Linked DNA regions of Homo sapiens: region 1 is linked to region 2. The links are contacts of gene promoters, found by promoter capture Hi-C in blood cells and fetal thymus (Javierre and others, 2016). All regions are on one chromosome and are shown on one strand. The core of a region is centred on a gene start or on the middle of the fragment in contact, and the rest is flanking DNA. Distances in the headings are between cores, read along the strand shown. Region 1 overlaps POLQ (DNA polymerase theta). Region 2 holds the start of ADCY5 (adenylate cyclase 5).

Region 1 (5,958 bases), core at 1,442-3,941, 1.9 Mb after region 2:
CGAACTCCTGACCTCAAGCGATCCACCTGCCTCAGCCTCCCACACTGCTGGGATTACAGACATGAGCCACCGCGCCCGGCCAGATTATGCTGTTAAAGAGATAGACTGTGATGACTCCTTTGTCAACAGTCATAACAATAGTTTCAAAAATCTTCAGAGGCTTGAAGCAGACTCTCAAATCCATTTGTAAGTGAACACGTATAATATTTTCGTTATATATCAATAAATATATAAAAACCTCCTTTTTTTAGGTCTTACTTTTGAGGAGAGGGATATCATTGAAGGAGCCTTTCGTCAAGGTCTCATTCGGGTCTTGGCGGCAACTTCTACTCTTTCTTCTGGGGTGAATTTACCTGCACGTCGTGTGATTATTCGAACCCCTATTTTTGGTGGTCGACCTCTAGATATTCTTACTTATAAGCAGATGGTTGGCCGTGCTGGCAGGAAAGGAGTGGACACAGTAGGTAAGTGAGTTTGAATTTAATTGTAGCAGCATTGCTGAAGGACAGTGTCTACTTGAAATTTGACTAGTGTCTGGCAACCTGTTTCTCATCATGCTGTATTTCTTTATTATCCAATGCACTAGTGTCATCATTTTGGATTCACTTAATATTTATAGTGAGTATGAGTTATAATTTTCTTTTTTTTTTTTTTTTTTTGAGACGGAGTCTCGCTCTGTCGCCCAGGCTGCAGTGCAGTGGCGCGATCTTGGCCCACTGCAAGCTCTGCCTTCCGGGTTCATGCCATTCTCCTGCCTCAGCCTCCCAAGTAGCTGGGACTACAGGCGCCTGCCACCATGCCCGGCTAATTTTTTTGTATTTTTAGTAGAGACGGGGTCTCACCATGTTAGCCAGGATGGTCTCGATCTCCTGGCCTCGTGATCCGCCTGCCTCGGCCTCCCAAAGTGCTGGGATTACAGGCTTGAGCCACCGCGCCTGGCATAATTTTCATATATATATATATATATATATATATCATCAACTGTTGATTTTCTACAAATGTTGAATTAAGTTTTTCTTTCGTATTGTATACAATAAAATGATTTAGTATTATGTAAATCAAGATGACTTCTTATTACTTAGCTGGAAGATGATTTTTAATTTCTAGGTGTAGTCTACTCTTTAGCACTAATTAATTTTCACAGATGTTAATTCAACTTAGGTGACTGGTCTCAGAAATCAGACAAGGATGCTGGGATGCACCCTCACACTTTGGGAATAGGAACTTGACATCCCATCTTTTTTCTCGAAATTGGTGCTGGCTCTGAAAAAACACCTTTTCATTTTTTTTTACCTTGTATCAGCAAGTTATGATTGTTTTTACCAGCAATCCAAACAAAAGTTTTGTCTTAAGCAGTAAGGAAGAGGTTTGTTTGAATTAAATGTCAAAACGGCAGCAAATTTTATTTCTAACGTGCTGTATCATTATATGTAACTAAATCATTATCAGCCATCTAACATTGAAGAACCTTGGGAGGAACATTCCCTGCCACTTTCTACTCTAGGACATAATTGTCATCTTTCTACTGTAGGACATAATTGACTCCAGTATTTTATTAGATATGTCAAAAAAAAACAAAACAGGCAAACAGTTCTGTGGCTACTGAAGAGAAATTAGGAAATCCAGGAGAATAAGGAAAGTGGATGGGAAATGGATATTCTGGGCAGAGGAAGCTGGGTAGTACACTGAGGAAGTAACTTTTAGAATAAACTGACTTGTCACATGAAGTCCCCAAATATGTCAGTTCTCATTATTCATGGATTCCATATTTGAATTTTCCACCTTAACAGAATTTATTCAGAATCCCGAAATAATACCTCTGGGGCTTTTGTGGACATATGCAGATCTGCGAAAAATTTGAATCTTTCCAAGCACACTTTCCCTGCTGTGGTTGAACAAGCCAAAGCTCTGCGTTCTTGTTTCAGCTCTTATACTGTGAACAAGCTTCTTTTTAATGGGCTAGTTAGTGCCATATTTTTCACATTTTTGTGCTTTTAGTTGGTGATTTTGCTGTTTAACATGACCCCCAAGCAAAGTACTGAAATGCTATCTAATGTTCCCTAGTGCCTTAAGGCTGTGATGTGCCTTATGGAGAAAATATGTGATAAGTTTTCTTTAGGCATGAATTATAATGCTGTTGGCTGGAGCTCAATGTAAACAACTATATACATTAAATAAGATGTCTTTAAACAGAAACATGCATAAAACAAGGTTTTGTATTGATGAAGTGATGAAAATGTTTTTACTAGAGGCTTGCAGGAACCTAATCATCTGTTTTCCTTGGCAGCAAGGGTTCAGTATTCTGTGTTCGTGGCAGCTTTATAGAACATGACTACCACAAATACCAAAAATTGACCGTAATTTATTGGTATCTGGATTAGTTAGAATATAAATTCACTGCTGTAACAAAAACCAATACAATAAGTGTTTAACAAGATAGATGTTAATTTCTTTCTCATATAACAGTAAAATTCTATTCTAGGCCTTATATGATGTAATTGTAATTTAGGCCTTATATGATGGCTGTAGTGTGTCGGGGACCTAGTCTTCTATTTTGTTTTAACATTTTCAGCAATGTAGTTTCTATCCTCGGTATATGATGGCCAGTCCAGTCTCTGTCATCACATCTGCATTTCAGCCATCAGGAAGGGAAGATGAGGAAGCAAAGAGCATGCCCTGCCCTTTAAGGCCGCTGCTCAGAAGTTGCACATAGTATTTCTCTTCACATACAATGGGCCAGAACTTTCACATGATTACATTCCCCAACTATAAGAGAGGCTGGGAAATATAATCTTTAGCTTGGGTGGCCACGTGCTCCACTAATACTTAAGAAGATGTGCATGGCTATTGGAACAGCTTTCAGTCTCAGCACCAGTAATAAATGACCCATTTACAATCCCTGAAGGGCATTGGTCAGCCTTTCTTTTAAGCCCTGAAAATTTTGATGATTTAAAAAAAAAAAACAAAACTTCCAATTTGTTGGATTTTTCCTACAGCTGACATCAGAGACGTTTATCCTGTTTCTCTCTTACTTTACCTACAGAATATGCAGATTGCATGTATATGCTTAAAAAGAGTTGAGGGAAGAGAGTGAGATTCTTCCTTCCCATTCCTATTTGCCTACCTCTGTCCATCCCCAATTTTCAGTGGACTCACACCTCTGGGGAATGGAGTATAAGTCCATTTTACATAGATAATTGTCTCTCGGGACAGAGGGTCTTTTAGTTAATGTAGAAGATAAGGAGAAATAAGACAAGAAATAAGCTGAGATCTTATTTGCCTTGTTATGTTCTTAGCTTATATTTATTATGGGAAAGAACAATTGGAAGGTTAGTGCCCTGGGCTAATTATCAAGCCTTAAATCAGACAACTCTCAAACAGAACTAAAATATACTGTAATAAGTTCATTTCTGAGGTCTTAAAGACTTCCAAGCTTTTGATCTTGCATATCATTGTATTTCAGGATGTCATATGACTTGCTCATAACTTCAAGCTAATGAAGAATGTAGGAATATAGTGGTTTATATTCACTATGGAGACTTAAATACTTGGTCATGCTTTTTGTATCGTGTAGCATCATTGGAAATTCTGTGCATTTTATATTCCTGGACAGCACATGGTGTTTTATTTAGATGACACTTCAGTCTTTCCATAGACTACTTAGAAGCTTCTAGTATAGGATGATGGTGCTTGGTGCCAAAATAGCGATTTGTAAGTTCAGCAGTCAGTAATAAATTATTTGATTCTAAATAATTTCAACTTCCCTCTTGTGATGTGGATGAGTCCTCCCTAGACAGGTGGTTGCAGGAACCTGTACATATATACTGATGTTCATTTGGACATTTTATAAACCTTGCCCATTCAGGAAAAGGGCAGTTCATTTTGTTGAAGAATCAAAGCCCCGAAAGACCTTTAAACAGCCCAAAGTGGCTTGTTTATCTTGCTGCTAATGCTAGTTGATTCATTTTCTAGGTAATTTATATGTGTGTGTTTTCTTTCTTAAGCTGGGCTGTTTTGTAGCCATTGCAAGAGTCAGGTGTTATATTCATGTGATTTTTAAAAATTGGATATTGACAAATTATAATTGTATATATTTTTGAGGCACAGAGTGATGCTATCTGTATACAATGCAAAATGATGGAATTAAGCCAGTTAACATATCACCCCCAAATACTTATCATTTATTCTTCCTGTCTAACTGAAACATTGTACTCTTTGACCATCTTCTCATCCCTCCAACTCCCTAATCTCTCTCTCTTCTGCTTGATTGAGCCTGCTGCTAAAGCTTTGATTGCATTTTTCAGTTCACTCATTGTACTCTTCATCTCTAAGATTTCTCTTTCTTTTTTATTGTTTCTATTTCTTTGTCAAACTTCTTGTTTTGTTTGTATATTGTTTTCCAAATTTTATTTAATTTTTTATCCATATATCCTTGTAGTTCATTGGACTTTTTTAGGATAATTATTCTGGATTCTTTCTCATTTCACAGATCTTCATTTCTTTAGGGTTCATTGTTGGAGCTTTGTTAGTTTCTTTTGAAGGTATCTTGGCTTCCTGGTTCTTTGTAATCTGTGTTCTTGTGTTGGTATCTGCACATTTGAGGAGACAGCTACCTCTTTGGCTTTTATAGGTGTTCTTTGGCAGGGATAGAACTTCACTTGTCTAGCCTTTGATTCTGAATAGGCCAACTGGCAGCAGCCCTGAGCAGGCAAAGCTTGCTTTGGATTCTGTAGATAGTTGGGCTGCTGCCTTTGCTCTGAGTTTGGGTGGGACTGCTGGCTGGGCTCTGCTATCAGGTGAACCCACAAGCTGAGCTCTGCAGTCAGGCAGAGTTGCTGGTTTGAAACTGCAATCGCCTCTTGGCTGGGCCCCAGAGTGTATTCCTTGGCCAGATGGTACCCCTATTTGAGATCTGTACTTGGACAGTGTTGCAGGCTGGGCCTCGAGGTTAGGTGGAGTTGCTATTCTGGACCAGTGGGCCAGCTGCTATGCTCAGTGGAAATGCATGATTGAGCATGGTGGCTCATGACTGTAATCCCAGTGACTTGGGAGGCTGAGATGGAAGGATCGCTTGAGCCCAGGAGTTTCAGGCTTCAGTGAGTTATGATCATGCCACTGCACTCCTATGTGAGTGACAGAGATCCCACCTCTAAAAATAAAATAAAAAAAATGCACATCTGAGGTTTGCCTCCCTGCCTAGGTGGGGACTTGGAGTGGGCTTTGAGACTGAACTGAGGGCTGTTTAAACTTCCACCCTTGGCAGAACTAGTCCCTGCACTTTGCAAAAATACAGTATGATAGGCATCTTCCACCTGGGGCAGGTCCTTGAGGCTGAGCTTGAGCACTGTTTAAAATCCCAGGTTTGGCAGAACTAGCCCCTGCTTCTTTCCAGAATGCACTGTGATGGTCATCTCCTTTCCTGGGCAGGGTCCTCATGAGCTTTGACGCTGGGCCTGGAGGCTGGCCATCTAAAGATTCAAGCCAGGTAGAATTTCCTACCACTTCTAGAAGTGATCAGTTTGGCTTTGTCCTGGGCTACACTGTTTAGCTGTTAGCTGGTACCTCTGATTGGGCACCACCACTGGCAGGTACACAGAGCTACCACCAAGATCTGCATGCTGGTTGCCGTGAGCTCTACCTCCTTGCTTTGTTTCTGCCTGACCCCAGGTGATCTAGCCATGCTGTTACCCAGCATGTTCTCTGTGAGGCGAGACTGGAGTTGGCTTCTTGGGAAGCCTCTTGGAATGCTAGGGAAGCTCTGTGTTCTCTGGTTTTCTTTTCCCACTGTAGAAGCCATGAGCCCTGGGGATTCCTTTCTGTGTGATACTGTGCTGACTTAGGGGAGTGGAAGGGGTGATGAGGTCAAAGTGAGATAGTTTATCTTACTATATCTTGCAATTTTTATGTAGTTTTGTGGTCTATGCATAAGTTTCAGACTTATTCCCAAGTTTTGGGTTT
Region 2 (6,517 bases), core at 4,018-6,517:
CTCCTCGGCACTATGTTCCAGAGTTCAACTCACCTGTCCATCTTCACCCACTGTCGAAAGTCCTCCTCCCCTACATATACCTGAGACTCCATCTTGCTTACCATTCCCCAGATGTGCCATGTGTTTATCCAGCAACTATTGGGCACCTCCTATGTGCCAGGCACCAGGCTAAACACTGGGCATGGAATAAGATCCCAACTCTACCCTCAAGGCATTCAGCAGACTGTGGAGACCGTTCCGTAAACAAGTCAAGATAATACAATGTGACAGGTGCTATAATAGATATAAGCAAGGTGTGCTGGGGGCAGAGGAGGAGGAGGGAGTGCCTATTGGCATGGGGGAGGGGTGGAGGGAGGGGAGGGGTATTAGGGAGGGCTTCCCTCAGGTGCTGAGTTTGATTTGTGGAGGAAAAAGGGTTATCTCTGCAGAGGCACAAGAGCAGTTCATGGGGGCTGGGTGACAGGAAGGTGGTGAACTCACAGTGAAAGCTGGCAGGTAGGAACAGGCTGTTTTGTGGACATGATTTCAGTGGGAGTGAGATCAGATGAGGACAAGGCGGAGGACAGATTTGAGGGCAAGGAGGGAGAGTTGGCAATTATCCAGGCAAGGAAGGGGATGATCGGGATGAAGGCTGTGGTAAGAGAATGTGGAAGAAGAGACAAATGCGAAAAGACAAGGCAGAGGAGATATTATCACTCTTAAGATCACAGAGTTTGGACGAAGGTAATTCCACCAGCAGCATGAAAAGGGAGTGAGGAGCAAGCTACTTGGGAGATGACCTTATTTTCAGAAACAGTGAATTTGGGATCTGGTGAGTCCCAAGGAGCATCGATGGGGAGCTCTCCAGTAGCCAGAGGGAAGCTTGGAACTGGGAAGGGAGGCAAGGGCTGAAGATACAGATTTCAAAAATATCTTAGAGAAAAAAACATGCTTATCCTTGGGCCCAGCAATTCTATTTGTAGGAATTTTTCCTAAGGATATGTGTAAATTTTTATTCATTTATTTATTTTTGAGACAGCATTCTCTCTATGTTGCCTAGGCTGGCCTCGAACTCCTGGGCTCAAGAGATCATCTCACCTCAGCCTCCTGAGTAGCTGAGATTACCAATGTGAGCCACTGTGCCCAGCTTGTGTGAAAATTTATCTACAGAAATGCTCACTGTTTATAATAGTAAAGGAGGGGAAACTTTTATTTATAAACTGCTATGACAGTGAAAAATGCCTAACAGTAGGGGATTGGTTAAATAAAGTATACTATACCCATGCAATTTGGACAGTAAAATGGATATTGTAGATGGATGCTTATTGACATGAAAAAAAATCCACAATATTTTGCTAAGTAGAAAATGGTAGACTCTAAAACTAATTGTAGAGTAAAAGATCCAGTTATTGTTTAAGAAAAAAATTAACATATTAATACTGGTTTTTTTTTTTTGAGATGGAGTCTTGCTCTTTCACCCAGGCTGGAGTGCAATGGTGCAGTCTCGGCTCACTGCAACCTCCACCTCCCGGGTTCAAGTGATTCTCCTGCCTCAGCCTCCCGAGTAGCTGGGATTACAGGTGCCCATGACCACGCCTGCCTAATTTTTGTATTTTTAGTAGAGATGGGGTTTCACCATGTTGGCCAGGCTGGTCTCGAACTCCTGATCTCATGATCCGCCCTCCTCAGCCTCCCAAAGTACTGGGATTATAGGCGTGAGCCACCGCGCCCGGCCAATACTGGTTCTTTGGTGATATGATTATGAGTGTGTTTTCTTTCTTTTTAATTTTTTTCCCACATCAATCATACATGGCTTTTGTTGTAAGACAATTATTTTTAAAAATTGAATAAAATTAAGAGGAATGACTTAGGGATAGCTCTGGGAATGAGAAGATGAGAGGATCAAGGATGGAACCTTGATCAATAGCCTTGATACCTCTGGCCCTGTGGCCCCTGTCCGTGCAGTTGACTATGTCTTGAGGGTGCCACCCATGTCATATCTGCTACATTGCTGCATGGTAGAATACAACGAGCAGACTGCTACAACTATGAGCTTTGGGCAAACTCATATATATATATATATATATATATAAATAATTTTATTTTATTTTTTTTGAGACAGAGTATTGCTGTGTTGCCAGGCTGGAGTGCAGTGGTGCAACCTTGGCTCACTGCAACTTCCACCTTCTGGGTTCAAGCAATTCTCCTGCCTCAGCCTCCCAAGTAGCTGGGACTACAGGCACACACCACCACGCCTAGCTAATTTTTGTATTTTTAGTAGAGACAGGGTTTCACCACGTTGGCCAGGATGGTTTCGATCTCTTGACCTCGTGATCCGCCTGCCTTGGCCTCCCAAAGTGCTAGGATTAGAGTCGTGAGCCACCATGCCCGGCCTTTTTATTTTTTATTTTTTTTTTGAGACAGAGTCTCATTCTGTCAACCAGGCTGGAGTGCAATGGCATGATCTCGGCTCACTGCAACCTCCACCTCCCGGATTCAAGTGATTCTCCTGCCTCAGCCTCCAGAGTAGGATTACAGGCTCACACCGCCACGCCCGGCTAATTTTTGTATTTTTAGTAGAGACGGGTTTCACCATGTTGGCCAGGCTGGTCATGAGCGCCAGACCTCAGATGATCTGCCTGCCTCAGCCTCCCAAAGTGCTGGGGTTACAGGCATGAGCCACCATGCCTGGCTGGACAAACTTTTTGATTCCCTAAGTCTGTTTTCTCATCTTTATAGTGGGGATAACCTTCCTCAGAATAGTTATCTGACAATAAAATGTTTACAGACATACAACAGTTGCTTAGTAAATATTAATTAGTCCATCCTCCCTTTCTTAGACATCCTTCCCTGCTAGACCCAGGTTTGACTTCCAGGCCCTTGTTTGGCCCTCACAGTGGGAAGTGACACCCCCTCTCTCTGAATGCCCGAGGTGCTGTTTGCACTTCTATTGAACCCAGAACTTTGCTCTGACCTAGAGATAGTGGCTAGCTCTTCTCCGTCACTGACTTGTTCGACTTGTTCCCGGTCTAGAGTTTGGTCATCTCTCTATCCTGGTAGCAACTAGCACAATGCTTTGTACATTGAGGGTTCTCTAGAATTTTTATTGACTAAATTCATGTTTTTTTTTACAACTTGGCTAATAGTGGAATACTCAAAGGCTGGATTACCCAAGGGTTAGTTTATTCTGACCTCTTGGAATTTTTCTCCTCCCAATTTGTAACTCTGGCAAGGTTTATCTTCCAGTCTGCAGAGATGACCAGCAGAGAGAGACAAAGAAGGAAGCTCACTTAGACCTCTAGGCTCCCTGTCAGAAGCTCTGGGGAGAGAGTTGGAGGATGAAGAAGGGGAAAGTAAAAGCTGTTTACCCCCAGGCTGGGTAGGAGTGTGGTCTCCCACCTCTCCAGGGTTTAGACTGTCAGAACTCCAGCAGGACAGCTTGGGGGCAAAGGGAATTGGGTAGACACATCATTCTACAGGCCTACGTCCTTTTTGCCTAGCAGTCGAATCCTTCTCTCCATTCCTGCCTCTTGTGGCTGGTGCTGTGTATCTAGCCATTTTCCCCTTCCCCTGCTTCCCCCCAAGTGGGCACGCCAGCTTGCTCAGGTGCCCATCCTTCCTGCTAACACCTTGTTAGGTTAGGGAGGCAGTCTGGCGCTGACGAAGGACCTTTGGGTGCCAAGTTAGTAGACCTGTGTGACCTATAGCAAGTTGAATAAGCTCCCAGAGCCTCAGTTTCTGCATCTATAAGCTGGGAATAGCTACACGGTCTCTGTCCTCTGTCTCATCCTAGGATTACTGACGGGAACCAAGTGAGATTTATGAGACTTTACGAACAGGCAAAGAGCGCTTTATAAAAGCCAGGTGTTTCCAGTGTTCACTGTGGGGCTTTCTCCTGGTAACTACCCACCAAAGCCTCCCTGTCCGCCCCGCCCCGGCTGCATCGGCCTCACCCACTGCATCACCATCTTTTCCATCACTGTCTTCCTGCGTCTCAGAAGTCCTGTTTCTGCATCTCCCCTGTCCATTTCCGGGTCTGGCTCTCCGGCCCCTGAGACCCCTCCAGGGACTCTGTTCTCCTTCTCCTTGAGGCACTCGCTGCCCAGGCGCCCCCCACCCGGTGCGCCCTCCTTTGGCACAGCCGCCGGGCCAGAGAATCGCCCAATAAGAGCGCCGGACTGTAGTCTGACAGCTCCGGAAGCGGCCAATCGAGCCGGGCCAGGGAAGGGGGGCGCAGCGCCGGGGCTGAAGTTGGGTTAAATGGGGGGAGGGGGATTAAAGGGGGATACAAAAGAGGGGAGCTAGGACTGGGGGCGCTGGAGCCCTGGCCGGGGGCGGGGGAAGACCGCGCTCCACCCAGGTCTGGTGACGGGACCGCAGGCTGGATGCGGCTCCTAGTCCCAGGGAGGGAGGGGCGCAGCGAGAATTTTAGGTGAGGAAGGGGAACTGGGGTGCCCGCGGCCAGGCCTGAGGATGCCCGCGGGGCGCCGAGGCTGGGGCCATGGCCAGGCCGGGGGCGGAGGCGGCCTCGCGCGGCTGTGAGCCGAGGCCCGGGCGGCGCGGGGGGCGGGGAGGCAGCGGGAGGAGGGGATGCGGAGGGCTCTCCGGCGGCGGCGAGCGGGCGAGAAGGGAGGAGCGGCGCGAGCGGCCGGAGCGGCGCAGGGCCCGAAGCGTGCATGGCGCGCCCTGAGCCGGGCTCCCGCGGGCCCCCCCGGAGCGCCTCTCGGGCGCCGCGGCTCTCAGGCGGGCCCCTCTGGGCCGGCTGCTTCTGAGCCCCGGCGCTGGATCTCTGGATGCCTTACTCCCCGGGAGAAGCCTGCCTGCGTCGGGGCAGAACCGCGGCAGCGCTGCGCCGGATTCCGTCCTCCGCCTAGTCGTTCCGCGCCGGCCGCGGTGGGCCCGCAGCCGGCGACGAGGAGCTTGGGGCTTGCGAAGCGGGCGCGACAGCTCTCCGGGCCGGCAGGTCCCGGCCGGCCCCGCTCCGTTTGCGGGAAAGGGAGAGGCGAGAGGGGAAGGGCCGCACCGCAGGAGCCGGTCCCTGACCCGGACCCCGCCCCCTGCGCGGACGCGCCGAAGGCTCGGCTCGGCTTTCGCCGGGGCCACGCATCCACTCTCGCCGCGAGAGGTGGGGGATGCGGGCAACGGCCCCCCCGGGCTCCAGGACCCTCCCCCCCGGGGCTCCGGAGCTGTTGCTCCGCCCGTCGCCCCCTCCCCCGTCCTCTCCACCTCCCATCCCACCTCCCCACCCCTCGTAAGAAAATAATGCTGGCTGGCGCCCGCACCTCCCAGTCGCTCCCAGTCCGCTGCGAGGAAAGCGCACCCGCAGTGTCTCTTCGCCGGGACCCCCGCCGAGCCGCCCTCGCCGCCGCCGAGCCCCGAGAGCAGCTGGGCTCCGCTTAGGCGGAATCAGCGAGCGCCGCGCCCGGGCACTGCCGGCCCGAGGAGGCACCGCCCGCAAGGACACCACTCCGTCCCGTCTCGTCCGCAACTCCGGCCCTCGTCGAGCTCGACGCGAGCCAGGATCCCGGACGTCTCTCCGCGTGCGGCGCAGCAGCAGCCAGACCAGTCCCTGCGACCCCACCTCGGAGGCAACTCCATTTCGGACCTGGGACTTCTGACGCGGATCCTCAGCTACTTCTCACCTCGGGGCTGTGCCCTCCTCCTCCGCTCAGGACGGGGGTGCCAAGATGCCCCGCTGCAGCGCAGGGCCCCGGGCCGCCCCCGACGTGTGACCCTAGCCTGGTCCCCCTGCTCGGCCGTCCGCCCTCCCCTTGGAGACCCCCGGCCCGGCTTCCGGGGGAGGAGGAAGGAGACGACGAGGCCGAGGGGGGGATGTCCGGCTCCAAAAGCGTGAGCCCCCCGGGCTACGCGGCGCAGAAGACTGCGGCGCCGGCGCCCCGGGGAGGCCCCGAACACCGCTCTGCGTGGGGCGAGGCCGATTCCCGCGCGAATGGCTACCCCCATGCCCCCGGGGGCTCTGCCCGCGGCTCCACCAAGAAACCCGGGGGGGCGGTGACCCCGCAGCAGCAGCAGCGCCTGGCCAGCCGCTGGCGCAGCGACGACGACGACGATCCTCCGCTGAGCGGTGACGACCCCCTGGCCGGGGGCTTCGGCTTCAGCTTCCGCTCCAAGTCCGCCTGGCAGGAGCGCGGCGGCGACGACTGCGGTCGCGGCAGCCGCCGGCAGCGGCGGGGCGCGGCCAGCGGGGGCAGCACCCGGGCGCCCCCTGCGGGCGGCGGCGGCGGCTCGGCGGCGGCGGCTGCCTCGGCGGGCGGGACGGAGGTGCGCCCTCGCTCGGTGGAGGTGGGTCTGGAGGAGCGGCGGGGCAAGGGGCGCGCGGCCGACGAGCTGGAGGCCGGCGCCGTCGAGGGCGGCGAGGGGTCCGGGGATGGCGGCAGCTCGGCGGACTCGGGCTCGGGCGCGGGGCCCGGCGCGGTGCTGTCCCTGGGCGCCTGCTGCCTGGCGTTGCTGCAGATATTCCGCTCCAAGAAGTTCCCGTCGGACAAACTGGAGCGGCTGTACCAGCGCTACTTCTTCC

What was found. Contacts are between HindIII fragments. The CHiCAGO score rates a contact against its expected background, and 5 or more counts as called.
Region 1: a fragment that was not itself captured here is called in contact with the fragment with the promoter of ADCY5 in region 2 in 1 of 17 cell types (monocytes); the score reaches 5.7 in monocytes.

Annotation. Positions count from the first base shown.
Region 1 is chr3:121,514,377-121,520,334 of GRCh38, reverse strand. It overlaps POLQ (DNA polymerase theta), which reads left to right. Exons shown (of 30, transcript NM_199420.4): 9 at 252-464. Among named protein-coding and RNA genes, the nearest start is that of POLQ, 29 kb to the left of the region's middle. The HindIII fragment of the contact is 1,489 bases long and covers 1,947-3,435 here.
Region 2 is chr3:123,447,840-123,454,356 of GRCh38, reverse strand. It overlaps ADCY5 (adenylate cyclase 5), which reads left to right and starts at 5,267. Exons shown (of 21, transcript NM_183357.3): 1 at 5,267-6,517. The coding sequence starts at 5,812. RefSeq lists an enhancer at 6,206-6,517. The HindIII fragment of the contact is 9,434 bases long and covers 864-6,517 here.